Linked DNA regions of Homo sapiens: regions 1, 2, 3, 5, 6 and 7 are each linked to region 4. The links are contacts of gene promoters, found by promoter capture Hi-C in human tissues and cell types (Jung and others, 2019). All regions are on one chromosome and are shown on one strand. Each heading gives the region's core, a stretch centred on a gene start or on the middle of the fragment in contact. The rest is flanking DNA. Distances are from core to core; before and after follow the strand shown.

Region 1 (3,737 bases), core at 975-3,474, 740 kb before region 4:
GGCCCCAGCCAGCCAAAGAGGAATAGGAAATTTAGTCTTCCATGTGTCCAGAAGGAAGAGAACTGGATCTAGATATCAGTAAGTAGAAATAATGACTCTAATTATGTATGAATAAATGAATAAATCTTCTTTTAGTTAGTGAAAAGTTACCATGGGGGCAAGTAGCTTTTTAGCACTGTATTTGACAAGTCAGCCCATTTCCATAAAGCTGTTTTAACATTTAAATTGTGGCATACACTTAATATAAAACCAAGTAATAATAATAGTAGCCAACACCAACATAACAGTCTGTATAATCCTCATAGCAGCCCTATGAAAAAGGTACCCTTTTTATCCCCATTTTATAGATGTGGAGTCTGAAGTACAGAGGGGTTAAGTAAGAAGCCCAAAATCACATAATTAGTGAGTAGCAAAGCTAGGATTTTAACTTGGGTGGTCTGGCTCCAGAGTCCAAGCTCGTAATCACTAGGCCGTAGGATACTTTACATTTTTTCACAACAACCATTTTCCTTATTAATATTTGTTAACTAATTATTCTATATGCTATAAGAAAGACTCCAGTTCTCTAGAGGAAGAGAATTGAAGTATCAGCAGTGGGCTGGACTAAGTAACCAGGAAATTTCCATCCAGCCATATGATTCTTTTATGATTCTGGAGTAAATTCACAAAATACTTATCAAGCACGCCAGGCACTGTGCTGACTCCAGGAATTTACTGTAGTGAATAACACAAACATGACTGATCCCTGTTCTCAGAGTATTAGTTCCCATGAAGTAGACAGTCATTGAAGGAAAGCACAAAACGTCCAATGAAGACACATGGCCAGGGGATTTAACCTCTTCTAGATGGTTAAGCCTGGCTCTTTGCTATTAGAGCTGAGGTAGATAAGGAAAGGCAAAAAGGTATGGACAAAGAAGGTCCAGCACTTAGTGATCAGGTACCCAGTGTGAAGAACTGGGAGAAGCCTGTTAAGAAGAGAGCACAGTGACCAAAGGCAAGAGCAGATTAGGTCACACTGATGCAGCCTGTAGAGGCAGGAAACCACTTAAGCAGGGGAATGACACAAGCAGATTTGTATCTTTCAAAACCGCTCCGTTTTGAAGAATCATACCCCTGGGCAGAGGTGTGGAGTGGATTAGAGGGAGCTCAGAGTGGATGGGGAGACCAGTAAGGAGACTGTTTAGTAATTTTGATGAGAGAAGAGATGCTAGCTAGGAGGCTAAGGTCGTAGCAACAAGGGCAGGAGATGTAAATAGATTTGAGAGATTTAGAAGGAAGCCAGTTTAGGACTTGGCGATTAATTGGATGTGTGCATGTGGGTAAGAGGTGGAAATGAGTGAGCGAGAGAAAGAGAGAGAGAGACAAAGAGAGTGTGTTCAGGGCCAACTTCCTGATTTCTGGCTTGAGCAGCTGCCTGCTTGCTAATCCCTATAATGAGTGAGAATGGTGGAGAAGCTATTTTGGAGGAGAGAGGAAGTGGTAGCACTGTATGCCCTTTATAGTGGGAAATTGGGAAATACGAGTTGATATGCCAGAATAAGGGGAAAGTGAGACAGGGGCAGGGCATGCATTGTGAAATGAACATGAAAACACATGACAGAAACAAGTGAACAGTTAGGTGATAACACATCTGTAGGCATTGAGGTGTGGTAAGTTGAGCCAGGGAAAACATATTCTCACCCCTTCACCTAGAAGCAAGACCAGCCTAAACTAATCTTAAGTGTGTTATATATTGGCTTCAGAGGACATTTGTCTGTCAGTGTCAGGGTTTCAGTCTCTGTTGATTCCCCTCACAGCAGCCTGAATTTTTCTTCTCTGATAAAGTTAGTATAGAATTCTAGCTTTGTTTGTTAAATTGTTCATGTGGTCCATTGTGTTACAAAGTCATACCACCACAATCCATTTGCCTGCCAAGTCAATACTTGCTTCACAAACATAGCAGAAATTAAGATGATTCTGTCTAGCTTGAGTTTCTTACAATTTTTTTTTAAAAAATCCTTGATCCTTTTATGTTTTAAGAGCACAAATGGGCCAAGCGCGGTGGCTCACACATGTAATCCCAGCACTTTGGGAGGCCAAGGCGGGCAGACCACCTGAGGTTGGGAGTTTGAGACCAGCCTGACCAACATGGAAAAACCCCTATCTACTAAAAATACAAATTTAGCTGGGTATGGTGGCACATGCCTGTAATCCCAGCTACTCAGGAGGCTGAGGCAGGAGAATCACTTGAACCTGGGAGGCAGAGGTTGCGGTAAGCCGAGATTGCACCATTGCACTGCAGCCTGGGCAACAAAAGCGAAACTCCATCTCAAAAAAAAAAAAAAAAAAAAAAAAAGAGTACAAATGAGTCTGTTCTATATGACCTCCAACTTTCCTTCTTCACAGGAGGGACATCTGTTGTTAAACAGTGTGGACTGGGTGAAGCTTCTGGGGTCATCATATTAACTTCTTTGGGTGTATTCTTCCTCTCCATGTACTTAGTACTTCTGTTTTTATTTTAAATATATATATAGTACGACTTTTTTTTGAGATGAAGTCTCGCTCTCTTGCCCAAGCTGGAATGCAGTGGCGTGATCTTGGCTCACTGAAACCTCCGCCTCCCAGGTTCAAGCCTCCCGAGTAGGCTGGGACTACAGGCAGGCACCACCATGCCCAGCTAATTTTTATATTTTTAGTAGAGACGGGGTTTCACTATGTTGGCCAGGCTGGTGTCGAACTCCTGACCTCGTGACCTGCCCGCCTCGGCCTCCCAAAGTGCTGGGATTACAGGTGTGAGCCACTGCACCCGGCCCAGACTCTGTTATTATAGGAATTCACAGACAAAATGTTGCCCCTACAAAACAGCAATGGAGCCTAACAAAAACTGTCTCACCAACATCAGCATTATGAAGGCACTGTGATTTTGTTATATGTATTTCTGTGCAATCTAGTACTGGGAAGCTATTCTCTCTTGCCGCAGTTTTGCCTGGTCCCTTAAAATAGGAACTTTTACCATCTCGGGAATTTTGGGAGGAAGGCTTCATGCATCAGAGAGGGGCTGTAGAACCAGACTGGGTTATCTCTCAGCTCTGTACTTTCTAGTTGTATACCTTTAGGTATAACTGTATGACTTTAACTTTTGTTTGGGCCATATGTAAAATTGGACTGTTGATAACATCCACTTCATAGGTTGTTGTCAGGAATAATGAGGTAATATATGTAAAGCACTTAGAATAGTATCTGGCACCCAGTAAAAGCTCAATAAATGCCAGCTATTATTGCTTTCTTAATATCTCTCAGAGGCTGGGTGTGGTGGCTCATGCCTTTAATACTAGTGCTTTTGGAGGCCAAGGTGGGAGGATCACTTGAGCCCAGGAGTGTAAGACCAGCCTGAGCAACAAAATGAGATCTGTTTCTATGAAAAAAAATTTTTTTTAACTAGCCAGGCACGGTAGCGGGTGCCTGTAGTCCTAGCTACTCCCGAAGCTGAGGTGGGAACATCTCAGATGTTCAAGGCTGCCGTGAGCCATGATTGGCTCGCGTTGTCCAGCCCGGACGACAGACTGGGACCCCCTCTCTAAAACAAAAACATCTCCTAGGATAAGGTGATAAGTTTCTTCTCTGTAACTCTCTATAGCATCTCATATAGGATTCTGTATTCAAAAGTCTCCTGCAACCACCTCCCCACCCCCAAATTTGTAGGAATTGGCAAACAAATGGGGAGGGACTAGGTCCCTCCAAAGGATCTACTACCACCC
Region 2 (4,063 bases), core at 751-3,250, 930 kb before region 4:
AAGTAGGTTCAAAATTGTTAGCCCATACCTTTGTGAAAAAGAAACCCACTAACTAGAGGTTAGCATTTTAACAAATGTTAGCGTGGGGACCTGTAGTCCAAATACTGTATTCAGAGTTATAGGAGTTAGTACTTCTCTTCTCCCCTGCTTTCTTCTGTGTGGTTATGTTATTCATTTGAACTACAGTTTGGTTCATTTGATTCTGTTTATGTTTCATGTTAGGTGCCCCTCTCTCTATTTTTCATTTTATTTATTGTCCTTTTTTGAGTATGTGAAATGTTAACATGGTTCCAAAAGTTGAAGTTATTCTCAGAGAAGTGTCACTCCCATGTCTTCTGTCCCTTCTACTTTGTTCCTACCCACTCCCAGATAGATAATCTGCTTATCAATAAAAAAGTTATGACCCTTTTTGCGCATGCCTCACAAATACACCTTACTTTAGGATATATGGAATAGAATTGCTTAGTCATATGATAGGCAGAGCTTCAATTTTAGTAAATAGTAGGAAACTGTTTTCTGAGGTGGTTAAACCAGTTAAAATTTTCTAGTTATTATTGATCCTTTTTAGTAACAGCATGAGTCTCACTCCTGTCAAGCCTGCTAATACTCATGCTGCAGTTTTTAGTTAGTACCTTGCTAAAGTCCTGGAGATGAAAGTCAGCCTAATAAATCTTTGTAACATCTCATTGAGCGACTCATTTGTTAAAAAAAAATCACTTTTTAAGGAGGTAATTTATAAAAATGGTACAAAATTTTAAAATATGACAGCATTTACAGTGGAAATTAAGTCGCCCTCCCATCCTGACCCCACAGACATCCAGTTCCACCTCTTTGAAACAGCTTACCATTGGTTCATTGCCAACACCGGTGCTGTTCTTGTGTTTGGGGATGCAGGGGTGAACAAAATAGGCCAAGATCTGCCTTAATGGAGTGTCCATTCTACTGGGGGAGATTGAAAATAATAAAGTTTCTTGCATATCTATTCAGAAACATGCTGTGTATATGTGGCATATTCTAATGTTTATTCTTAAGCCCATATATATTGTACTGCATCTTGCTTTTCTCTCATTATATCTTGGAGGCTGTTCCATATCAGTACCTTAATGCCTACAGAGCACCATGTCATGGATTTCTTAATACAAGCTTGTCCAAAAATGAGCTAATTTGGATTATGAGAATTTAATTTTACTAGTTTTATAAGACACCCCTAATCTGGCTTATCAGCACCTCATTTCATGAGTGCCACCTTTATTTTCTGACCTGCATCATAAGCACCACTGTGAAGCCATCTTTGCCGTGGTGTAATTGGTGGGTTGGTGAAGTTCTCTCAGATAGTTCATTTGCTGCTTTAAAGTGGTAATAATCTTGTATGCATTTGCATAGTTTTCATTGATTTCTTTGCTCTCTTTACTGGTCTGTCACCCCTAGATTGAAAGTTTAATTACGTAAACATTAAAATATGTATACTTTACTGAAGTAATTGTGTGCCATTTATTTCAGTGGTAATTAAATTCTTTTGATGTGGAGAAATCACCAAATGAGTTTTTTAAGGAAGGTTAATTCTCTCAAGGCGGGATGACTGTGTTCTACTATTTCTCTAGCTCTTTGTGGTCAGTGCTTCTTTAGGGCCTTCATTTAATTCCTCACTTGTTTACCAGTGATTGAGAAACTTCTAAAATCACTCACACCTTTTGTTTTAGGCTTGATTGCAGCAAAGAGCATGTAGTCACTAAGTGGAGTGGTGAGTAGGCCCCGCTATTTCTAACTTATTCCATATAAATAGTTAAATTCATGTAAGTTGAATTCGAGTATGGTGTGGCTCCTTTATGATAAGAATTGACCTAATTCAGGTGGAGCTGGGAAGGAGATGCCCAGGCAGCTTCTCTTTCATCCATGCAAACATGTGTTGACCTCTTGCTAGGTAATATTAGGTGCTCTGGGTCCAAAGGAGAATCATTTGTGGTTCCTGCCCACAAAAAAACTTGTAGTCTAGTAGGAGACGGTTAATGGGTACAAACAAACAAACAAACAAGCAAAAAAGAATGAATAAGACTTAGTATTTGAAAACAGAACAAGGTGACTATAGCCAATAATAATTTAATCGTACATTTAAAAAATAACTAAAAAGAGTATAATTGGATTGTTTGTAACACAAAGGATAAATGCTTGAGGGAATGGATACCCCATTTTCCATGATGTGATTATTATGCATTGCACGCTGGTATCAAAACATCTCATGTACCCCATAAATGTATATACCTACTATGTACCCACAAAAATTAAATAATAAAATTTTTTTTAAGTATGTGTGGAGCACAAGGTTGAACAGTTGGCTGTAAACTGCATACTCTCAACTCTGGGGACATTGGCTTGGGCTCAGTCCAACAAATTGAAAGTCCTTGAAACTTTTGGGAGTATAGACTTAACTTATGAGAGTTGGGGTTAGGTGATTCCTCTGTAGCCTTCAGGTGACTCCTGTTCCTGAATGGAGTGTAATTTGTTGTCAGTGCAATATACATGTCAGAAAGAAAATGTGAGAAGGAAAATGATAGTATGAAATGACTGTTACATGTGAAGCACTGTACTATGTCCTTCATGTGTTTTATTTTATCCTCATAGTTACCCTTTAGGGGCAGCGACCATTTTCTAAATGAGAAAGTTGAGATGCTGTATCTCTCCTTATTCTATCTCAGGTTCTGCCTTTGAATGTTGTGACTTTGAACAAGTCCCTCAGTTTTCTCATCTGTAAAAAGTCATAGTTATGATGCTTGAATTCTTTTCAGCTCTATGTTCTAGGAATCTGTGAATATTTACTAATTGTGTTCTTGTTTGGGCAGGAAAGAAGGCTATTCAGGGAATTACTCCCTCTTAGCAAATTAATAACTTAATAGTAACACTGTCAGGTTGTCCAGACCAAATAATTTATTTTCCCATCACAAAGTGAGTACCCATTATGTATGTGGCCTTAGAAAGCTACTGTAAAATAAATCAAGTAAATAGGCTTGGTGACAGGCTCTCCATCAATTGTTACTAGCCCTGGGCAAATGGGCAAGTAGCTACCTGCAAGATTATGTGATGATTTTAAAGTGTGTTATAGGTTAAATGCTAAGTATTTTTATTAATTTAGGAAGTACTTTGGCATATGGCCTTTAAAATTACATTATTATATTATCGTAAATCTTGACTAAGGCAACAAAACATGTTTACTGTGGCCAACTTCACAGATGGGGTGAAACGGTGAAATATTTTATAGCATGTATAATGAGCTACTAGATGATGATGATTTTCTCTTCACATCTGAAAAATGTGAGTTGGGAAATGAATTAGAAGCTTTAAAGGTCTACTTAATTGTGAGAATTAATTTCAAGAAATAGTGTCATGTACCCAGTGAGTACTTAATAATTGAGGAGGAGAAGGACAAAAGGGAAATTATGAAGCTTTCAAACCTAAGTCCATTTTGGAAAAAGGTTAGAATAAAAATATAATACTAATGTAACTATGAAAACTGCCTTACAACATGATACAAAAAGAAACAAAATTAGCAAATACTAGACATTTCAAGATTAACTATTCTCCTAAATTGGAGTCCATGTATTCTAGGTACACTAATTCTTGAAACCAGTTCTTATTAGACATGGAATCTCCCCTCATAGGACATGATGAAAATTTATAGGAGTATCTTTGTCTTCTAATGTAATTTTATGAGATAAATATTATTTCATTATAAATTATTTTATTTTGTTTCTGTCTTACAGTGTTTTTTTTTTCTGGATGGGGGGTAGGATTTTGTGTACCATTTTGTGTACCATTCTGTTGCATAATGTATTTCTATTTTTGTTTTTATTTTTTTACTATGCTTGATTTTAGCCAAAAGGCTGAGAAGCAATATTTAATTTTTTTAAAGATAGGAGTCTCACTCTTTTGCCCAGGTGGGTCTCAAACTCTTGGGCTCAAGCAATCCTCCTGTGTCCAGAGTTGGTTCCTGCCAGTGGGTTCGTGGTCTCTCTGACTTCAAGAATGAAGCCGCGGACCTTCGCCGTGAGTGTTACAGCTCTTAAAGATG
Region 3 (3,723 bases), core at 964-3,463, 900 kb before region 4:
CTGCTTTAGTCATTTTTGATTTTTAGTGCATTTGAATTCATGAAAGTTAACTAGCCAAGAAAAATAGTATAGTTTCTGTGCCACCATCCCTGGTAAGTAAATTCATATGAGGTCCCAGAATCCAAAACTAATAATTGTGTATGGTACCGTGAAAGGTACCATTTCCTAGTTGAGATATTCCTGTCCATTCTCAGTGTAAGTCCTTCGTCCCCCTGCCTTCCTACTGTTCTTCCTCCCACCTTGAGGCAACAGTTTGAGTGAATACATTACCCTTGCCCTATGCTGTGAGGATCAGCAAGTTTAGACTCCAGGACAGTCAGTAGGGGCAAATTGAAGAACACTTTGCATCTGGGAAAATCTGCCTTAAGTCTAGAAAAAGTCAGACTGAAACTCTCTTAGGTGAAGATCTTTAGTTGGGATATATCAGATGGAATGTCCTAGTAGGCCATGCTACCCAGGTATCTGATTTACCTGTCTTAGTGTAATGAACTTTTTTTTTCTCTTGCCAGTTTTAATGTAATGAACTTTATGTCCTTGCCTTCAAGTTGTTAATTACTTTTTCTCTGTGGAGATAATACATAGCCCTTCTGCTTGCCATTTCTGTCTTAGTCACTAAATCAATTTCTATTGCTTATGGCAAATCCAAACACTTATCTCACAAACAAAGCAATTTATTTTGTAATTTTGTGGCCAAACTTACTGACATATTTGTTTATAGTTTTACTACAAATAAACATTATAAAATTTGTAAACATTACAAAGTATGTAGTGCACTATGTAAAATTTTCCAACAGCCCCAGTCTAGTGACTTAACCCTTGGTTAACAATTTGACTTATATTCTTGCTTTTTCAGTGTATTTTTTTAAACAAGATATTTCACTATACTATTGTTTTGTAGATTGTCTTTTGCATGTAAATACACATACTTAAGATTTTTTTGTTCATTAGTATCTAACTTTATTCTTTTTAAATAATTTATAATATTTCATTGTATAGACATACCATTATTTATTTAACCAATTCTCTTTAAATGGGCCTTCAGGGTTTTTTCCAGTTTTTTTGCTTTACAGAAAGTGCTGAAGCTGACATCCATATATATTTCATTTTGTACTCTTATGTGACTGTTCAGCTTTTTTCCAAATGGCTAGCCAATACCTTTTATTGAAAAAAATCCTTATTTTCCCCCATTTAATTGAAATGCTACATTTATATAAATGATGCTCCTAGACTTACAATATGGTTACGTCCTGATAAACCCATGGTAAGTTGAAAATATGGATCTTTTTATAATATTGGATCATTCTATCCCCAAACAACTTATGTCTTTGTATTTTTCTTAAATCTTTCAGTGGAGTTTTATAATTTCCTTACATGTCCTATGAGTTTATTACTACATGTTACATGTGTTTTGCAATTATAAATTGCAGATCTTTTTACTAATATTTTCTAGCTAGTTGTTTTTGGCATGGAAGAATGCTAGATATTTTCATATAATTATTTTATGTGGTTACTTTAGTGAACCCCTCTTATTTTCTCTAATTTTTTTTCAGTTGATTCTCATGGATTTTTCATGTGGGCAGTCATTATCTGCAAATATTGATTTTTTTGCCTCTTTGTTTCCTAATCCATTTAACTTTAATTTGGTTTTCTTTCTTTTCTTTTTTATTTTTTTGAGACAGGGTCTTGCTGTGTTGCCCAGGATGGAGTGCAGTGGCACATTCATAGCTTACTGCAGCCTTTAACTCCTGGGCTCAAGTGATCCTCCTGACTCAGCCTCCCAATTAGCTGGGATTACAGGCTCATGCCACCATGCCTGGCTAATTTTTAAATTTTTTTGTGGAGACAGGGTCCTGAACTCCTGGTGTCAAATGATCTGCATATCTTAGCCTCCCAAAGTGCTGGGATTACAGGCATGAGCTACTGTGCCTGGCCAGCATACTTTTTAAAATACACATAGGTAGACTGAAACTATCACTTTGTAGGTAAACTATCCCATTGGTGAAACAATACTCATTTTCTGCGTAAAGCTGTGCCATTGGTAACTTTGTTAGTATCTTTTACATCTTTGCAATAAGATTCAAATTAAATTATATCCTAAATAAATTTTTTCTGTGGATGTTTTTGTATACTTGTACACCTGAGCAAGGGATGGAAACCTACAACAATATAGAGTCTAAATCAGTGGCTGTTTTTCCAGGTTGCTTAGTAGAATCACTTCAGAATGGTGATTCCAATGCCTGGGCCCCATTCTAGACTAATTAAATAAGAGTCTCTGATGAGTGGGACTCGAGCATCTTTTTTTTTGTTGTTTTTAAGCTCCCCATTTGATTCCAATGTTGGGCAAGCTCATTGAGAATCACTAGTCTAATTAAAATTATTTATGTATGCCAATAAAATTGTGTTTATTTTATCCTAAGTGGCTGTTTTCTATACACGAAACAGTTTCATGTTTCCATTTGGAAAAACATAATTAAAATGCAAGTTTAGCAAAATGAAATTAGATGTATTGAGAAGTAGAGATCTGGAGAACTTATTATGGTAGATACATATGTAATATTAATGTTTATGATATATCAGTTTAAGAAATAAATTTCCCTTCTGAGCTGGTTAACCAAAAATCAATCGTTGTTCATCAAGAGTCATTTAGTAAGTAATATGAGTATTAGCCATGACCTCAATAAAATATTAAGAAAATATACCAGAAAATATATTAAATATATTTACTGGGTATATACATTGCATTTTTTTTCAGCCAGGAAGAGCGTTTTGTTTAGAATCATGCACGATCATTGAAATATTGGAGAGTGATGTGAGAGTTTGTATTGAAGAGGTTTTGAAGTCAGGTACCAGTAGCTTTCTGAATTTCCTGACCAACATAGGAAATGATCATAGGAACATCAACTGGGTAACCCAGCAAGAAACAAACAAACAAAAAAACTCCCAGTCTGATCCTTTGCCTAGGGTACAGTCAGTCCCTGACGTCAGTCCTTGATCACGGGGTAGGCCAGGGGCTAGCAAACTATGACCTGCGAGTCTAATCTAGGTCTTTTCTAGAAATAGTTTTACTGGAGATAGCCATGTTTATTCATTTTCTTATTTCCTGTGGCTGCCTTTAGGCTCCTACCATAGAGCTGAATCATTTGACGTAGATTGTATAACCTGCAAAGCTTTAAACCATGTACTGTCTGACCCTTTATAGAAAGTTTTCCAGCTCCTATATTACACAGTTGTTGTGTGTACACATTAAGACTACTGTGTCACACATTACTTGCTCATACTCTCAAATAGATCCTCTTAAGCTGAATTTGGTCTTTCATACACAAGTGACTAGAGATTATTCTGTTTTTAGGGCTTTCAAATGGAGGCTGCAGTTGAGGGAGAAGGATTTACCTTGGCAGTTAAGGGATTATCCTGCTAGTTCTCTGATGTTCCTACTGTAGAGAACCAGGATTTTGCTCACTTACCTGGGTAGGTGTTTTCTTGCTTAGCTCATTTTCCATGTTCTTCTGCATCGCTGCTATTGCTCCCCCTTTTGAGGGTGGGCATATGGTGGTAGGTTAACTAAAGCAGGCAGATTCGGAACTTGGTCCATGAAGATCTTCCATTGCAGTCACAGAAGAGAAAGACTATTTTTGACACACCTTGCTAATAATGATCTGGATGTGGGAGTTTAAAGATTAAGAGCTGTTCAACCTTTAATTGTGGTTCAACTGGAGAGCTCAA
Region 4 (3,936 bases), core at 1,425-3,924:
GACACTGGGCTGTGTTGAGGCAGCAGGCAGGGCACACTTGGGGGAGGAGACAGCTGAATTTACAGACACACACAAACAGGCTGTCAAGGTATTTACACTGCATACAATTAGCTGCAGAGTATTCACAAGTGGATTAGCTACAGCAAATGTTCAATCCCAGCCTGGCTAACTTGGTCCTCTGTTCCCCCCACCCCGCCATCATGAACCTTCTTTCTCCTCCAGGCTAGTGTGTGAGTTTAGAGAGGGCAAAGTCAAGAGAATGTCAGCTGAGTCAGTGCAGTTCTCTGTCCCCAGTAACTCACCCCAAAGCCAAAGAGGAGCAATTGACTGCTGTTTGGTGTTGGAACAGCTAATTGGAAAATCAGAGCGCAGTTTCGCACGACATGGAGAAGTACACATTCAGCTCAGAATGGGCAAAGCCAGGAAGAGCCACAGTCGCTGTGATCACTCCCTGAGAGCTTCCTGGAAGGGGTAGAGACTTCCAGGAACCCTCTAATAATGGGAAGAGGATGACAATAGAAGAAGCTATCCCTCATCACTCCCTCAATTGGCACCACTTCCTTTTCTGACTGGATGGGGGAGGCGGGAAGAGGCATGGTGGCTGTGTATCTCTGTGGGACAGAAAATGAATTTTTTGCCTTTGAGGTAACAGTCCGGGGCTGGGGAGTGAAAGGATGGCTACCCTGAGGGTATCCCAGGTCTGTGATATCTGGCCATGATGGGCATCATTCGTGAATTCACTGAACATGTCTGCAGCTGGCATCTGCTGGGAGCACCGCACTGAGTCTGGACTTCCTATCAGCCTTGGACCCACGGGGTAGAAAGGAGAGAAAAGACGGAAGAGGGCACAAGGGAGGCGCAAACGAGTGGAGGTGGGCTAGAGAATAGGAATCTTCGGATGTTCTCGGGCTTCCTGAGATGGACAGAAAGGGGGCTGAGAAAGGAAGGTGGAACCCCCCCATGCCACCAGGCACTTCCCGACACCTCCCGCTCCTCTTCCAGCAGTCAGGAGCGCGCGCTCCGGTGGGGCTTAAGCCCTGGAGAGTCAAGGGAGGAGAGACCCAGCAGGAAATGGGCCTGGGGAAGGGACGGTTCATTATTATTATTTTAAAAAAATTTATGTTTCAATTTATATGCAGACTAACCTTTTTGGAGTGTGGAGATCTTTGAGTTTTGACAAATGCATAGAGCCGTGGAACCACCATCAAGATATTGAGCAGTTCCAGGGGGCGAAGGGAGGGGGGGTTCGTAGTCTCCCCGCTTGTTAGCTGCTGCGATTGTCTGCGCTCCCACGGGCCGACCTAAAACAATTCTTGCGCACACGCTGAGATAAATAACGGCGACAGGTGGAGCAGGTGAGATTAGCAGGACCCGGGTTGGGCGCGGGGCGGGATCGGAGGCGCGGGGGAGGCCACCAGCCTCGCTTGCCAGCCTACGCCCCTCCCCGCGGGCGTTTGGGAGGAGCGTTCTCCGCACTCCTGCTCCGCGAGGGCCCCTTCGAGGCGGCTGAGACCCGAGTGCCGGACTCCCGCCGCTGGAGCGGGGCTCGGGTTCGGCAGCCGGAAGGAGGTGTGCCCCCGGGGCGCTTGGGGGCGCCTGAGGTCCCGAGGGGAGGCAAGATGGGAAGAGTGGCTAGCCGAGGAAAATGTGGGGTGACTTAGGGAAGCTCTGGCGGAGGGGTCGTGCGAGCAAACCTGTTGGCAACCTGTGGGCCGCGGCAAGGGCAGGAGCTCTCAGCGCGACCTCTCCGCCAGCTGCTCCGGCCCGGCCCCAGCACCAGACGCCTGGAAAGGGGCGGGGGCCTCTCGAGCCGGGCAGACAGCCTTGCAGACCCACAGCCGCGGCCCGTCTCGCGCGGCTGCAGGACCCCAGGAACCGCAGGCGCCCGGCCTTTCCCTAGGACCCCCGCTTCAGTCCCGCCTCCCCAAAGTGCAAAACATTTACGAAGTGTGCAGTGCCCTGCGGGCATGGGTCTCCGAAGCGAGCGGCCGTGTTTGCCCCGCGGGCTGCTGGCAACGGTGCACCCGGCTCGGCCAGCTAGTCTGGGTGTGCAAGGCTGGAGAACAGCGAGTGTGCGAGCGCGCGGCTGCAGAGCCCCCGCCGAAACCCAGGTCCCTCCGCCACTGTCCTCGGGATAGATGGATCCATTTCTGCTTTCTGACATTTTCCTGCTGGGCGGGGTTGGGGGGGAATGTTAGGGGGCGGAGAGAGGAAGAGAGAGAGAGGGAGAGGAGAAAGGGAAAGAGAGGAGAGGAGAGGAAGGGAGAGAGAGCGAGAGGGAGAGAGAGAGGAGAGAGAGAAGAGAGAGAGAGGAGAGAGAGAGAAAGAGAGAGAGAGAGAGAGAGAGAGAGAGAGAGAGAGAGAGAGAGAGAGAGAAAGAGAAAGAGAAAGAGAAAGAGAAAGGCAGGCAGTCAGCTTCCCCCAGCCCTGTTTTGTTTTCTCTAATTGGTCCTGGGGGAGGCGAGGAAATTGGACAGAGGCTGGGCCAGGCGAGCTGGGCTGCCTTTAATTGGCTCCTTTTTTTAACTGGAGGGGAATCAAACAGGAGAGCGAGCGACAACGGGTGGGAGAGCGAGAGACCGAACGAGGAGACGCGAGGAGGAGGGAGGAGGAAGAGAGGGAGGGAGGCGGGAGGAGCGCGGAATGAAAAGCTCGGAGGGGCGAAAAAGCAGCACAGCAAAGCCCAAGTTGCTGAGCGAGCGGAGCGCTCCCGCGGCCCGGAGCCGAGCGGCCGCCGCGCCCCGGAGCCCGGCCCGGCCCCGCCCGCTCTGGGCCCCCGCAGGCCAAGGCCGCCGGGCGGGGGCGGGGACGACCAACTTGGGGCGCGGCGTAGCCCCGCTCTCCCGAGAGCTCGGAGCCCGGGAGGGCTACGGCCGCGGCCAGACGGCGGGAGAGGAGCGCGGCGAGCGGAGGCGGCGAGCGGCGCCCGCGCCGCAGCCCCGGCCTGGGCGAGAGCGCGAATATTTTTCAAAAGACTCAAACTTTCCTCCTTTCCCCGTTTTCTGGGGCCCTTCTTGCCTGGAATTGCTCTCCAGATTCCCGCGGGGCGCCGGGCTGCTATTCTTCCCCCGGGTTTATCGGCGGCTCGGCTAACTTCACGGACCCGGGGACCCGCGGCGCTCGTCCCTCGGCCGAACCCAGCCCGCGCTGCTCCCCGGATCAGGAGGGCCGGGCCCGGGGCTGCTTCGCCGCCGCGAGTGCTTTCAGCCCGGCCCCCTGGAGTCGGGCCGCTGAGCCCACGGCAGCGGCCGCAGGACTGGAAACAGCAGATTGATTAACTCGAGCGGAGCCCCGGCCTCCCCGACTCCGCTCCGCTGAGGGGCGGCCCCAGTGCGGGGAAACGACAAGTTTGTCAGTCGTCCGTGGCCTGTTGGATCGAAGCGCCGCCTCCGCCGCCGAGAGGTCCCCGGCGCCTAGCATCCCGCGCGGACGGCCCTGGGTACCCGGGGCGGCTCGGCGGCCGGGCTCCTCGGGTCGGGGCGCTGGCTGCTGTGCCGGGCGCGCCGAGGCACCCGGGGCTGGGCCAGCGCCCCCTGCGTCCCCACGCGGGCAGCGGCCCCGCCGGAGGAGAAACACGGGTCGCCGCCACCTCCGCCTCTTCAGTCTCCTGGTCTTCGTCGCCGCTCTCTCTCTCACCTCTCAGGGAAAGGGGGGGACATAGGGGCGTCGCGGGGCCCCGGCGAATGCGCCCCCCGCCGCCTCTCGGGCTGCGCCGCCTCGCGGGGATGAAGCACCGGCCGTGAAGATGGAGGTGACCTGCCTTCTACTTCTGGCGCTGATCCCCTTCCACTGCCGGGGACAAGGAGTCTACGGTAAGAGCCCGCGTCCCGCTCCACCTTGGCTTAACCTCGCGCGGAAACTTTGCAAGAGGCGCAAAGTGCGCGCTGCCGGGGTTTGGTGGAGACCTCGACTCGGACTCTGGAGTGGATGCCCGCG
Region 5 (3,576 bases), core at 660-3,159, 950 kb before region 4:
TCATGTGATCAAGTGCACAGTAACAATCCTATAGTAAAAGCTATTGGAGCTTAGAAGATGATACCCCAATATATGGCACTTTGAAGTACTAAAGAAGCAGCTTCAAAATCTGACACCTCTTCACCCACATCCCATCTCCAATCTTATCTCTCCTAAAGCTCAGGATGAGGCTCTTCTCTTTAGTTCCCTTATATACCTATAAATTGGACCCATCAAAGAGGAACACAATTGCCTTTGATTCCCTCCCTGAAATTAACTAGAGATTAAACCTCACATCAGAGGAAGAGACTGAAAATTAAACACCACATGTAGAGCCCAAACTTTGTCCCAAACTATCATCCACTTTCCCTTCCCACTCAATTCCCAAAGAGAATCATTTACTAACCATTGCCTGAGCATTGGAGCCATTTATTCCTCCTAAAAATAACTTACTGTCCCTTAAAATTACCACATCTCCCCCATCTCTCCTTCTCTTATTAAGGGTATATAAGCATCTGGACCTCGTTGTGTTACTGGATAATCATTCTCCTGTGATTCCCCTGTGCTTATGCACGTTAATAAATTTGCATACCCTTTTCTCCTAATCTGCATATTGTCAGTTCATTTTCAGCACAGCTTCAGAGGGCAGAGGGGAAGCTTTGCCTATTTGCCCACACAATGCACTGGTGGGCTCTGTGGAGTTGTCTCTTCCAGAATTGCTTAACATATGCAGAAGACACAATACTCAAAATACAAGCCATGAAAACACTCTTGGTGGTGGATGAGGAAAGTTTCTGTGTGTGTGCTCAGGACAATATGGTCAGGTATGCAGTGTCCTGATGGACCAGCTAATATTGTGTGGCTGACTAAAGGCAGATACATACTGTTTAGAATTCAGTAATCTAAAAAGCAGATGGTAGAGGGCTGACAGCCTTTTGTGAAGAGTGAGTCACCCTATTAAGATTCTCACCTAAATAGGAACATTCCTCTCCATATGGTAGTGAATAGAGAGAGCCCCTGCAGGCAATCTAGGATTTTCCTTAAAAAAACAACACTTCAAAAATAAAAAAAATAAGTGTTCAAGACCATCAAGTTCCATCCAATAGAGCAAGAGGTCTGCGAACTCACAGACAAGTCATGTTTTTCTTTTCTTTAAAAAAAATTCCCATTAGTTACCAATATTTAGAGGTCAACAGATTTCAAATCTGGCAACTTTGGATGCTTATACCACATAGCAACAATCTGCTGGGCTGAGTATAGAGTACTTACCCACCTGCCTAGGCCATTTAGGCATTAGAATGCTCTGTTGGAGAATGATCAAAATTTGGATTGAAATTTTTCAAAGAAGAAATGATCAGTTGCTCACTCTGACGGTAGGAAAATCTAATTAATGCTCCCATGAAATGTATGGCTTTTAGCAAAGTGGCTGGCCAGTAAATCTACCTGGAAGAATTACTTGCAAAACATACCCTTAAGTAAATAAATTAACGTGGTATTTAGTTACTGGATCTAAGCCAATTAAATTTGAGGACATGTGCCCTAAAAAATTATTTTAGTTTTGGAACAGGTGATCTTGATCCATTCCTTCTGATAAACGGTGAGCAACAAAATCAGCCATAAAGTTTATTATAATAAAATATCATCAGCATATAGGAAGATAATGGGTTTTTTGATTTCTAAAGCGAGGGAGCATGTGTCCAAATAACCTAAAAGTGGTTTCAAATTACTTAAACATAAGTTAAAAACAAGAAGGGCTACAACTATTTTATGCTACCTAAAATACTTTTTGATCCGTCTGAACAATTCTATTGATCTGGACTTTCCAGGTCATACAGAAGTCTTGGTTTTATATGAACCTGGATTCTATATTTAACTCATGCAACTTAACCTGAAACCAGCTCTTATTCACAGAGTCAAAGCATGAGAAATCATTTGAAGCTTCAAACGTTCTTTTAAGAACAAAGTTTATTTTTCTAATTATAAAAATTATCATTGTACATTGTCAACAATTTGGAAAATAAAGAAAATTTACATTATTTTTCTCTCAACTATTTATTTTTAAAAATTTCAAAGCAACAGAATACAGATATGCAGGCCAATTCACCCACTTACAAACGCTGAGCCAACAAATTTACTCAGAGCTTCTTGGCAAAGTGAAAAGTGAAAAACAGGCAGTTATATAATTCACATTGCCTATAAAGAGAAAACACATCAGTTACTCAAGGGTAGCCAAATATTTCATGACTTGTGGCTCAGAGAGAAAATTCTCTTGTGTTCATATGAGGAACACAGAGTGATATCACACACAACAACCTGTCAACTATGCCTTCTAGAATTCCTCAGTATAAGGGAAAGGGTACATAGTATGAAGCCTGGGGGGTTAAAAGCATGGATTCGAATCCTAGCTTTATCACTTATTAATTGTACCTTGAGTAATTACTTAACTTTCTATGCCTTGGCTTCCTGTTTTATAAAATATTGTGAATAATATCACCTACTTCAAAGGGCAGTTATGAGGCTTAAATGAACTAATGCCTACAAAACACTTAAACATAGATAACATAGGTGCAAGTACTATGTATCTGGTACATGGTAAACATCCTTATTATTAAAGTCAACGCTAAAATGAATGTGTGTGCATATGCTAATAGTACAGAGAGAGGGCACTTAAACCAACTAAGGGCCTGAGGGAAGGTTTCCTGGAAAGAGGATGCTTGTGCTGGGTCCAAATCTTGGTCTACTATGACCTTGGCCAAATTATTTAAACTTTGTCCCTATCTGCTAAAACAGATACTTTGTCAGTGATCTATACAATAAGCTAATGTTTACAAAATTAAGTAAGATAATACATGAGGATTAGACAAGCAAATGTATTAAAGCATGGCATTAGTGACAAAAAATATTTCCTCTTGAATCTACTGGAAAAATATAAATTATTCTTGCATTTAACTTTTATTTGTGTCCATTTTAACAACTAACCAATTTTAGTTTAGAAACAGTTATATATAAATATTCATTTAGATCACAACAAAACTACCTAGAAGGAATGTTAGGTGACAACGCTGGTTTAGCACAATTCTCCTGTTCTTTTTTTACCTCCATGGAAATGCCTTAATATATTTGTGTCCATTTTTGAGGCATACTGTGTTTACTTAACAGTGTAGGTAAGTACAACACTCTTGACTTCCATTAGATAGAGCTAACTGCGCCCTTATCTGTATCACTTTATATATCCCTCATTTCACTTCATACAGATTCTGTTATAGTATATTGTATTATACTTACAATATATTTATATCTAGCTTTTAGGGTCTTGCTCTGTTGCCCAGGCTGAAGTGCACTGGCACAGTCATAGCTCACTGTAATCTGGTAATAGCTCACTGTAACCTCAAACTCCTGGGCTCACCCAATCCTCTTGCCTCAGCCTCCCAAGTAGTTAGAACTGCAGGTGCGCACCACCACACCTGGCTAATTTTTAGAAAATTTTTGTAGAGATGGGTGTCTGGCTATATTGCCCAGGCTGGTCTCAAACTCCTGGCCTCAGGTGATCTTCCCATTTTGGCCTTCCAAAGCACTGGGATTACGGGGCATGAGCCA
Region 6 (3,908 bases), core at 451-2,950, 860 kb before region 4:
GCAAAATATTGTGTAGTTTTAAAAATGTTTATATAAAGGATTATATTTAGCAGTAATGTTATGTTTTTATTAATTTGCAAATATTTTGTGTACAAAAAGATTTTGATTTTGCATATATACAAATAAAACATTTTATCGATTTCTGACAAGTCAAAAATAATAGTAATAGCTATTATGATTAATGTGAGATGGTATCGCATTGTGGTTTTGATTTGCATTTCTCTGATGATTAGTGATGTTGAACATTTTTTCATATGTTTTTTGGCTACTTGTAGGTCTTTTGAGGAGTGTCTGTTCATGTCCTTTGCCCACTTTTTAATGGAGCTATTTGTTTTTTGCTTGTTGAATTAAGTTCCGTATAAATTCTAGATATTAGACCTTTGTCAGATGCATAGTTTGCAGATATTTTTTCCCATTCTGTGGGTTGTTTATTCTGTTGATAGTTTCTTTTGCTGTGCAAAACTTTAGTTTAATTAGGTCCTACATGTCAGTTTTTGTTGCTATTGCTTTTGAGGACTTAGTCATAAATTCTTTATCAAGGCTGATGTATAGATAGATGGTATTTCCTATGTTTTCTTTTATGATTTTTATAGTTTGAAGTCTTACATTTAAGTCATTAATCCATCTTGAGTTAATTTTTGTGTATAATGAAGGGGAGAGGTCCAGTTTCATTTTTCTGCATATGACCAGCCAGTTATCCCAGCACTGTTTATTAAATAGGGAATTCTTTCCCCCTCGCTTGTTTTTGTCAACTTTGTTGAAGATCAGATGGTTGTTGGTGTGTGGCTTTATTTCTGGGTTCTCAATTTTGTTCCATTGAGCTACATGTCTGTTTTTGTACTAGTACCGTGCTGTTTTCATTACTGTAACCTTATAGTGTCATTTGAAGTAGGTAATGTGATGCCTCCAGCTTTGTTCTTTTTGCTTAGGATTTTCTTTAGCTATTCAGGCTCTTTTTTGGTTCCATGTGAATTTTAGAACAGTTTTTTCTAATTCTGTGAAAAATGATGTTGATACTTTGATAGGAATAGCATTGAGTCTGTAGATTGCATTGGGCAGTATGGCCATTTTCACGATAGTAATTCTTCCAGTCCGTGAGCATGTAATGTTTTTCCATTCATTTGTGTCATCTCTAATTTCTTTCAGCAGTGTTTTATAGTTGTCCTTGTAGAGATCTTTCACCTCCTTATTTAGACATATTCCTAGTTTTTTTTTTCCCTGTATGTGTGTGACTATTGTAAATGGGATTGCATTCTTGATTTGGCTCTCAACTTGAATGTTATTAGAGTATGGAAATGCCACTGATTTTTGTACATTGATTTTGTATTCTGAAACTATTATGAAAACACCTGTGTGCACACAAACTAGAAAATCGAGAAGAAATGGAACAATTCTTGGAAACAGACAACTTCCTAAGATTGAATAAGGTAGAAATTGAAACCCTGAACAAACCAATATCAAGTTTCGAAATGGAATCAGTTATAGTAAACTTAGCAACCAAAACAAACAAAAAAGACCCAAAAAACAAAAAACCCTGGACCAGATGGATTCACAGCCAAATTCTACCAGCTATCCAGAAAAGGGCTGGTGGTTCCCATTCTACCCATTCTACTGAAATGATTCCAAACGATGGAGGAGGAGAGACTTCTCCCTACCTCATTCTGTGAAGCTAGTATCACCCTGATATCCTGGCAAAGATATGGGAAAAAAGAAAACTACAGGCCAATATCCTTGGTGAACATAGATGTAAAAATCTTCAACAAAATTCTAGCAAACCAAATCCAGCAGCACATCAAAAAGTTAATTCCCCATGATGAAGCAGGCTTTATTCCTGGGATGCAAGGTTGGTTCAACATACGCACATCAATAAATGTGATTTACCACGTGAACAGAATTTAAAACATACGATCATCTTAATAGATGCACAGAAAGCTTTTGGTAAAATCCAACATCTCTTCATGATAAAAAACCTCAAACTAGGCATCAAAAGAACATACCTCAAAATCATAAGAGCCATCTATGACAGACTCATAGCCAGCATCATACTAAATGGGCAAAAGCTGGAAGCATTCTCCTTGAAAACATTAAAAGAAAGGATGTCCACTCTCACCACGCCTATTCAACATAGTACTGAAGGTCCTAGCCAGAGTAGTCAGGCAGGAGAAGGAAATAAAAGGCATCCAGATAGGAAGAGTAGAAGTCAAATTATCTCTTTTCATTGACAGTATGATTCTATACTTGGAAAACCCTAAAGCCTCCACCAAAAGGCTCCTAGACCTGATAGATTTTTTTTTTTTTTAAGAAAGGGTCTCACTGCATCATTCAGGCTGGAATGCAGTGGCAAAATCATTCCCCACTTTACCCTGGAACTCTTGGTCTCAAGTTACCCTCTAACCTCTGGAGTAGCTAGGACTGCAGGCACATACCACCAAACCTGGCTGGTTTTATTTTTTATTTTTTCTAGATATAGGGTCTTACTGTGTTGCTCAGGCTGGTCTCAAACTCCTGGGCTAAAGTAATTGTCCTGCCTTGACCTCCCAGAGTGCTGGGATTACAGGCATGAACCACCAAGAGTTCGTTAAACAACTCTTGGAGGCAGGCCTTATTTATTATCTTCATTTCACACAGCCTCAGAAAGGTTAAGTAATTTCTCTAAGATCTCAAAATCAGAAAAGTGGATTCTAACTTGGCTATGTCCAACTTCACAGTTGGTTGTGTTATACATTGTCACTGAGAAAGAAGCTACTCTCATATCTAAATAACTTTACCCCCCTTATTTGTAAGGCTTAGAAGATATGTGCCTGGTCTGGGACCTCTGTTTTTTTGGGAAGCTTTGTTTATAATATTGGCGTTATCAAGGGATTCTGACAGAGTCCTCATAGTGATATCCTAATACCTTGTTTTTATAAACAGGTAGAAGGTTTACATTGTTGTCATAATGCCTGGAAGAAGGAGGAAAATTATTTATTAGCTAAGATATGGTTTATAACATAGGTAAGGCCCACAATTTTCCAGACACTGAGTATTTCATTTGGTCTTACCCAGGAAATAAGTATTATTGTCCAACTATTGTATTTCACAAATGAGGAAACTGAGGCTTAGAGAGCATATTGAACTTATAATCACACAGCTAGAACATAACCGCTGGGACTGAAGCTGAGGTCTGTCTGACTCTAAAGGTCTTTTTATTATTTATTTATTTATTTATTTTGAGACTGAGTCTTGCTCTTGTCGCCCAGGCTGGAGTGCAATGGCACGATCTTGGCTCACTGCAGCCTCTGCCTCCGGGGTGAAGTGATTCTCCTGCCTCAGCCTCCTGAGTAGCTGGGATTGCAGGCGCCTGCCACCACTGCCAGCTAATTATTGTATTTTTAGTAGAGACGGGGTTTTGCCATGTTGGCCAGACTGTTCTCAAACTCCCAATCTCATGATCTGCCCACCGTGGCCTCCCAAAGTGCTGGGATTACAGATGTGAGGATGTGAGCCACCGTGCCTGGCCCTTTTTTTTTTTTTTTTTTTTTTTTTTTTTTTTTTTTTTTTTGGTGAGATGGAGTCTCGCTCTGTTCCCCAAGCTGGAGTGCAATGGCCCGATCTCGGGTCACTGCAACCACCACCTCCCAGGTTCTAGCGATTCTCTTGCCTCAGCCTCCCAAGTAGCTGGAATTACAGGCGCCACTACATCTGGCTAATTTTTGTATTTTTAGTAGAGACGGGTTTTCACCATGTTGGTCAGGCTGATCTCGAACTCCTGACCTCAGGTGATCCACCCGCCTCGGCCTCCTAAAGTGCTGGGATTACAGGCATGATCCACCGCGCCCGGCCGAAGGTCTTTTTAAACACACAGTGCTGTCTTTTTCATCTCTGTTTATCATCTTGTGGTATTATCTTTTTTTGTGTGTGAGGCTTCA
Region 7 (3,624 bases), core at 161-2,660, 710 kb before region 4:
TGTCAGTTCAGTCTCTTTTAGTGATAGTCCACAAACATAAAGATAAGGTAATAAATGTAACACCTAAACTTCTGTGAAACTTTTGGGGGTACTCTGGACTATGTTAAATGAGCATATAGCTGCATAATAGCTACAATAACAGCACTTGTCACTTTGTCTGGAAAGTGTATCTAGGTGCCAGGCATTGTGCAGAACACTTTACACATAACAAATCATTCAGTCTTCACGAAAACCCCATCAATAGACACCTTATTACAACCATTTTATGGATTATTATTATTATTCTCATTTTATGGTTGGGAAACTTGAAGGTTACACAGTAGGTCAGTGAGACAGAAGGGCTGAACCAGGCATCAAAGTAATTGGTTTCTAATTAGAATATTGTTTAAAAAAAATAGTAGTTGTGTGACCATGAGCAAGTTCCAGCATAGGATGGGATACACTACTCTTTAAAAAAAGCATGAAGTCCTAGAATGTTTGTACAGGAAAATGACATGTAAAACAGAGATGTACCAGTCACATCACATTCTTAGAAAATGATGTCCCTTTTTGATCTCTGTATTTTGAAAGTGATGAATAACTGGCTGGTCTAGAGAAGAGCAATCTAGATGATTAATTGGTTAAAAAATAAGCCTGCTGAGAAAAGATGTAAAACAGGCCTTGCAAACTAGAGGTCTAAACAGTGGCATTTTTGTTTGGCCTATACAGTGTAAGGAAATAAAAATTGGATGCCAGCTCTTAAAAATTGGGAAATTTCTCTTAAAAATATCCAAATCACCAGCTGCTCTTGAAAAATAGGAAACTTTTTCAACATCAGATCCACAGCCCCCGCTGCCTCACTGCAGTGAGTATAAGCATATGTTCTCCAGTCTGTCCTCATCCAGCTCGCATGCCACCCACGTGGACATTTCAGTTTGTCTTTCCTAGTTTAAGCCACGTTACTGAAGAGGAGTCTAAGTTTGGGAAAGAATACTTTTTAAAAGAGGGATGTTATTGTCCTCCCTAAGGGCATAGTTAAGAAAAAAGAAGGAAGGAAGGAAAGAAGGAAAGGATGGAGATGGAAGGACTAAGCTTAATTTGAATCAAAAGAAGAGTTTGGTAGGAAGAAATGATTTCCTAAGGGTTAGGCGGTTGGTAGCAGGGCCACACATTGAACAGTTCCGTTAAGTACCACTTTATATAGTCCATGTGCAACTACTCATCATATACAACTATACACAGTGGGCTAGACTGGGAATTTCTAAGGCAGTTTACAAAATTTCCGACTGTTTTGTTGTTGTTGTTGTTGTTGTTGTTTTGAGATGGAGTCTCGCTTTGTCACCCAGGCTGGAGTGCAGTGGTCTGATCTCGGCTCACTGCAACCTCCACCTCCTGGGTTCAGGTGATTCTCCAGCCTCAGCCTCCTGAATAGCTTGGATTATAGGCACACGCCATCACATCCGGCTAATTTTTGTATTTTTAGTAGAGTTAGGGTTTTACCCTGTTCACCAGGCTGGTCTCAAACTCCTGACCTCGTTTGATCTGCCTACCTTAGCCTCCCAAAGTGCTGGTATTACAGGTGTGAGCCACCGCACCTGGTCAGACTTTTTTTTTTTTTTTAATGTAGTCCAAATGGCTGCTGGCTCCTTTGTACACTGTTACATAGTCGTAAGACTTCAGCTGCTCCCTCAAATGTCCCCAGTTCCTACCCACAGTGTATGAGAGGGCCTGTTTCCCTACACTCTTAACAACAGAGTATGTTTTTCAAACTTTGAGAGATCTAGTTGGTGAGAGCTTTTCATTTCTGTTATCGAGAAGGAAGTTGAGCATATGTTCGTGTGTTTTGGGGATGCTTGCCGATCTTTTCTGTGAACTCCGCTTGGTTCTGTCTTCCAGTTTTCAACACAGGCTTCAGTTCTTTATTTTAGGAATTCTTTATATATTAGGAATATTAATCTCTCTGTGATAGAAGTCGCAGATATTTTTTCTCAGTTTTTTGTTTGTACTTTTGTGTTGCTTTTTTTTGTTTTTAGTATGTAGAATTTTGTTTTTTATGTAGTCAGATTGATCAGTCTTTTTCCTTTTTGCATCTGGATGATGAGTCACATAGGAAATGTTTCTCTACTTTCAGAATATAGAGGAATTGACCCATTTTAAAATTATTTTATTTTATATATATGTGTGTGTACATATATATGTATGTGTGTGTGTATATGTGTGTGTATGTGTGTACACATATATATATATAGGCAGAGGCAGAGTCTTGCCCTGTTGCCCAAATGACACAATCTTGGCTCATTGTAACCTCTGCCTCCTGGGTTCTATCGATCTTCCCACTTCAGCCTCCTGAGTGGCTTGGATTACAGGTGCACGCCACCGTGTCTGGCTGACTTTTAATGTTTTTTATAGAGACGGGGTATTGCCATGTTGCCCAGGCTGGTCTCAAACTCCTCAGCTCAAGTAATCTGCCCGCCTTGGCCTCCGAAAGTGCTGGGATTACTGGTGTGAGTCACTACACCTGGCATTTTTTTTATGCTTAATATTTTTTCATTTTTTATATTTAAGTCTTTGATTCATTTGGAATTTATCCTCATGTACAGTATGAAGATGGATCTGATTTTTTGTTTGTTTGCTTTGGAACTAAAGCACATTGAGAAAGAATGTATCCGATTTTATCTTTTTCCGTATGGCCATCTGGTTAACCCAACAATACTTATTAAAAAGCCCATCCCTGATTTGCGTTGTTGCCTCTGTTAAATAATAAACATACAATTTCAAATGTAGTTTGGCTCTATATCTTGGGTTTTCTACTCCACACCACTGAGCAGTCGATTCATGTGCCAATACTACATTATTTTATTTATAGAGGCTTTATAACATGTTTTAATATCTGCTCTTCTTTTTCAGGGTTTTCTTGGCTATTCTTGCATGATTGCTCTTCTAAATTAGCCTTATAATCAACTTATCTAATTTTGATGGGGAATGGGTTATGGTATTCTTACTGAGATGTTATTAATTAGAATTAGAGAGTAGTGGCATCCTCTGATCTTGTCTTCCTCTCCAAGAACACGGCGTGCAAGTCTACTTTCATGCCATGTTCTTTTTTATGCATGTTGCCCCTCAGTTTGGGCCAGGTTGAGTATGGAGAGTTGGTAAGGATATTCAAGTAGAACTACCTGGTCAGCAATCAGAATGTGGGACAGGAGGTCACAAGAGAGAGAGGTTGGACTGGAGATACATGCAGGGAACCACTTGCATGAATAATATGTGAATTCATGACATGATATTTTCTTGTTTTTTTAAATTATTTTTTATAGAGACAGGGTCTCACTATGTTACCCAGGCTGGTCTTGAACTCCCAGGCTCAAGTGATCCTCCCACCTCAGCCTCCCAAAGTGTTGGGATTATAGGTGTGAGCCACTGTACCCGGCCCTCGTGACATGACATTGCACACTGTTGCATTGTTAAGTTAGTCATTCAGTATCATTCTCTAAGGAACTTCCTCACTGAAGATGTTTAATTCATAGGTGTTACATGACCAGGTAATATTTTCATGTTTTCTTATCAATGAAAGTTATTTTAGAGCTGTTCATTTAAAAAATCTTCCATAGCACAGTTCTTCAGTTTCATGGAATAAAAAATGCT

What was found. Contacts are between HindIII fragments. The study calls those that stand out against the background at their distance.
Region 1: a contact is called between a fragment that was not itself captured here and the fragment with the promoter of MDGA1 in region 4, in 1 of the 25 tissues and cell types used here (mesenchymal stem cells).
Region 2: a fragment that was not itself captured here is called in contact with the fragment with the promoter of MDGA1 in region 4 in 2 of the 25 tissues and cell types used here (dorsolateral prefrontal cortex and lymphoblastoid cells).
Region 3: a fragment that was not itself captured here is called in contact with the fragment with the promoter of MDGA1 in region 4 in 1 of the 25 tissues and cell types used here (lymphoblastoid cells).
Region 5: a fragment that was not itself captured here is called in contact with the fragment with the promoter of MDGA1 in region 4 in 1 of the 25 tissues and cell types used here (dorsolateral prefrontal cortex).
Region 6: a contact is called between a fragment that was not itself captured here and the fragment with the promoter of MDGA1 in region 4, in 1 of the 25 tissues and cell types used here (lymphoblastoid cells).
Region 7: a contact is called between a fragment that was not itself captured here and the fragment with the promoter of MDGA1 in region 4, in 3 of the 25 tissues and cell types used here (adrenal gland, bladder and dorsolateral prefrontal cortex).

What each region holds. Positions count from the first base shown.
Region 1 is chr6:38,441,260-38,444,996 of GRCh38, reverse strand. The region is part of intron 6 of BTBD9 (BTB domain containing 9); the gene reads left to right. Among named protein-coding and RNA genes, the nearest start is that of BTBD9-AS1, 38 kb to the left of the region's middle. The HindIII fragment of the contact is 4,862 bases long and covers 1-3,737 here.
Region 2 is chr6:38,624,388-38,628,450 of GRCh38, reverse strand. The region is part of intron 1 of BTBD9 (BTB domain containing 9); the gene reads left to right. Among named protein-coding and RNA genes, the nearest start is that of BTBD9, 14 kb to the left of the region's middle. The HindIII fragment of the contact is 6,152 bases long and covers 1-4,063 here.
Region 3 is chr6:38,599,635-38,603,357 of GRCh38, reverse strand. The region is part of intron 1 of BTBD9 (BTB domain containing 9); the gene reads left to right. Among named protein-coding and RNA genes, the nearest start is that of BTBD9, 38 kb to the left of the region's middle. The HindIII fragment of the contact is 4,519 bases long and covers 1-3,723 here.
Region 4 is chr6:37,696,621-37,700,556 of GRCh38, reverse strand. MDGA1 (MAM domain containing glycosylphosphatidylinositol anchor 1) reads left to right here and starts at 2,674. Exons shown (of 17, transcript NM_153487.4): 1 at 2,674-3,812. The coding sequence starts at 3,746. RefSeq lists silencers at 1,563-1,632, 1,653-1,722, 2,589-2,718, 2,739-2,808, 2,869-2,998 and 3 more and an enhancer at 3,321-3,936. The HindIII fragment of the contact is 32,962 bases long and covers 1-3,936 here.
Region 5 is chr6:38,643,710-38,647,285 of GRCh38, reverse strand. The region is part of intron 1 of LOC105375044 (a long non-coding RNA gene); the gene reads right to left. Among named protein-coding and RNA genes, the nearest start is that of BTBD9, 5.6 kb to the right of the region's middle. The HindIII fragment of the contact is 4,411 bases long and covers 1-3,576 here.
Region 6 is chr6:38,556,649-38,560,556 of GRCh38, reverse strand. All of the region lies in intron 6 of BTBD9 (BTB domain containing 9), which reads left to right. Among named protein-coding and RNA genes, the nearest start is that of BTBD9-AS1, 77 kb to the right of the region's middle. The HindIII fragment of the contact is 5,193 bases long and covers 1-3,908 here.
Region 7 is chr6:38,410,533-38,414,156 of GRCh38, reverse strand. All of the region lies in intron 6 of BTBD9 (BTB domain containing 9), which reads left to right. Among named protein-coding and RNA genes, the nearest start is that of BTBD9-AS1, 69 kb to the left of the region's middle. The HindIII fragment of the contact is 7,702 bases long and covers 1-3,624 here.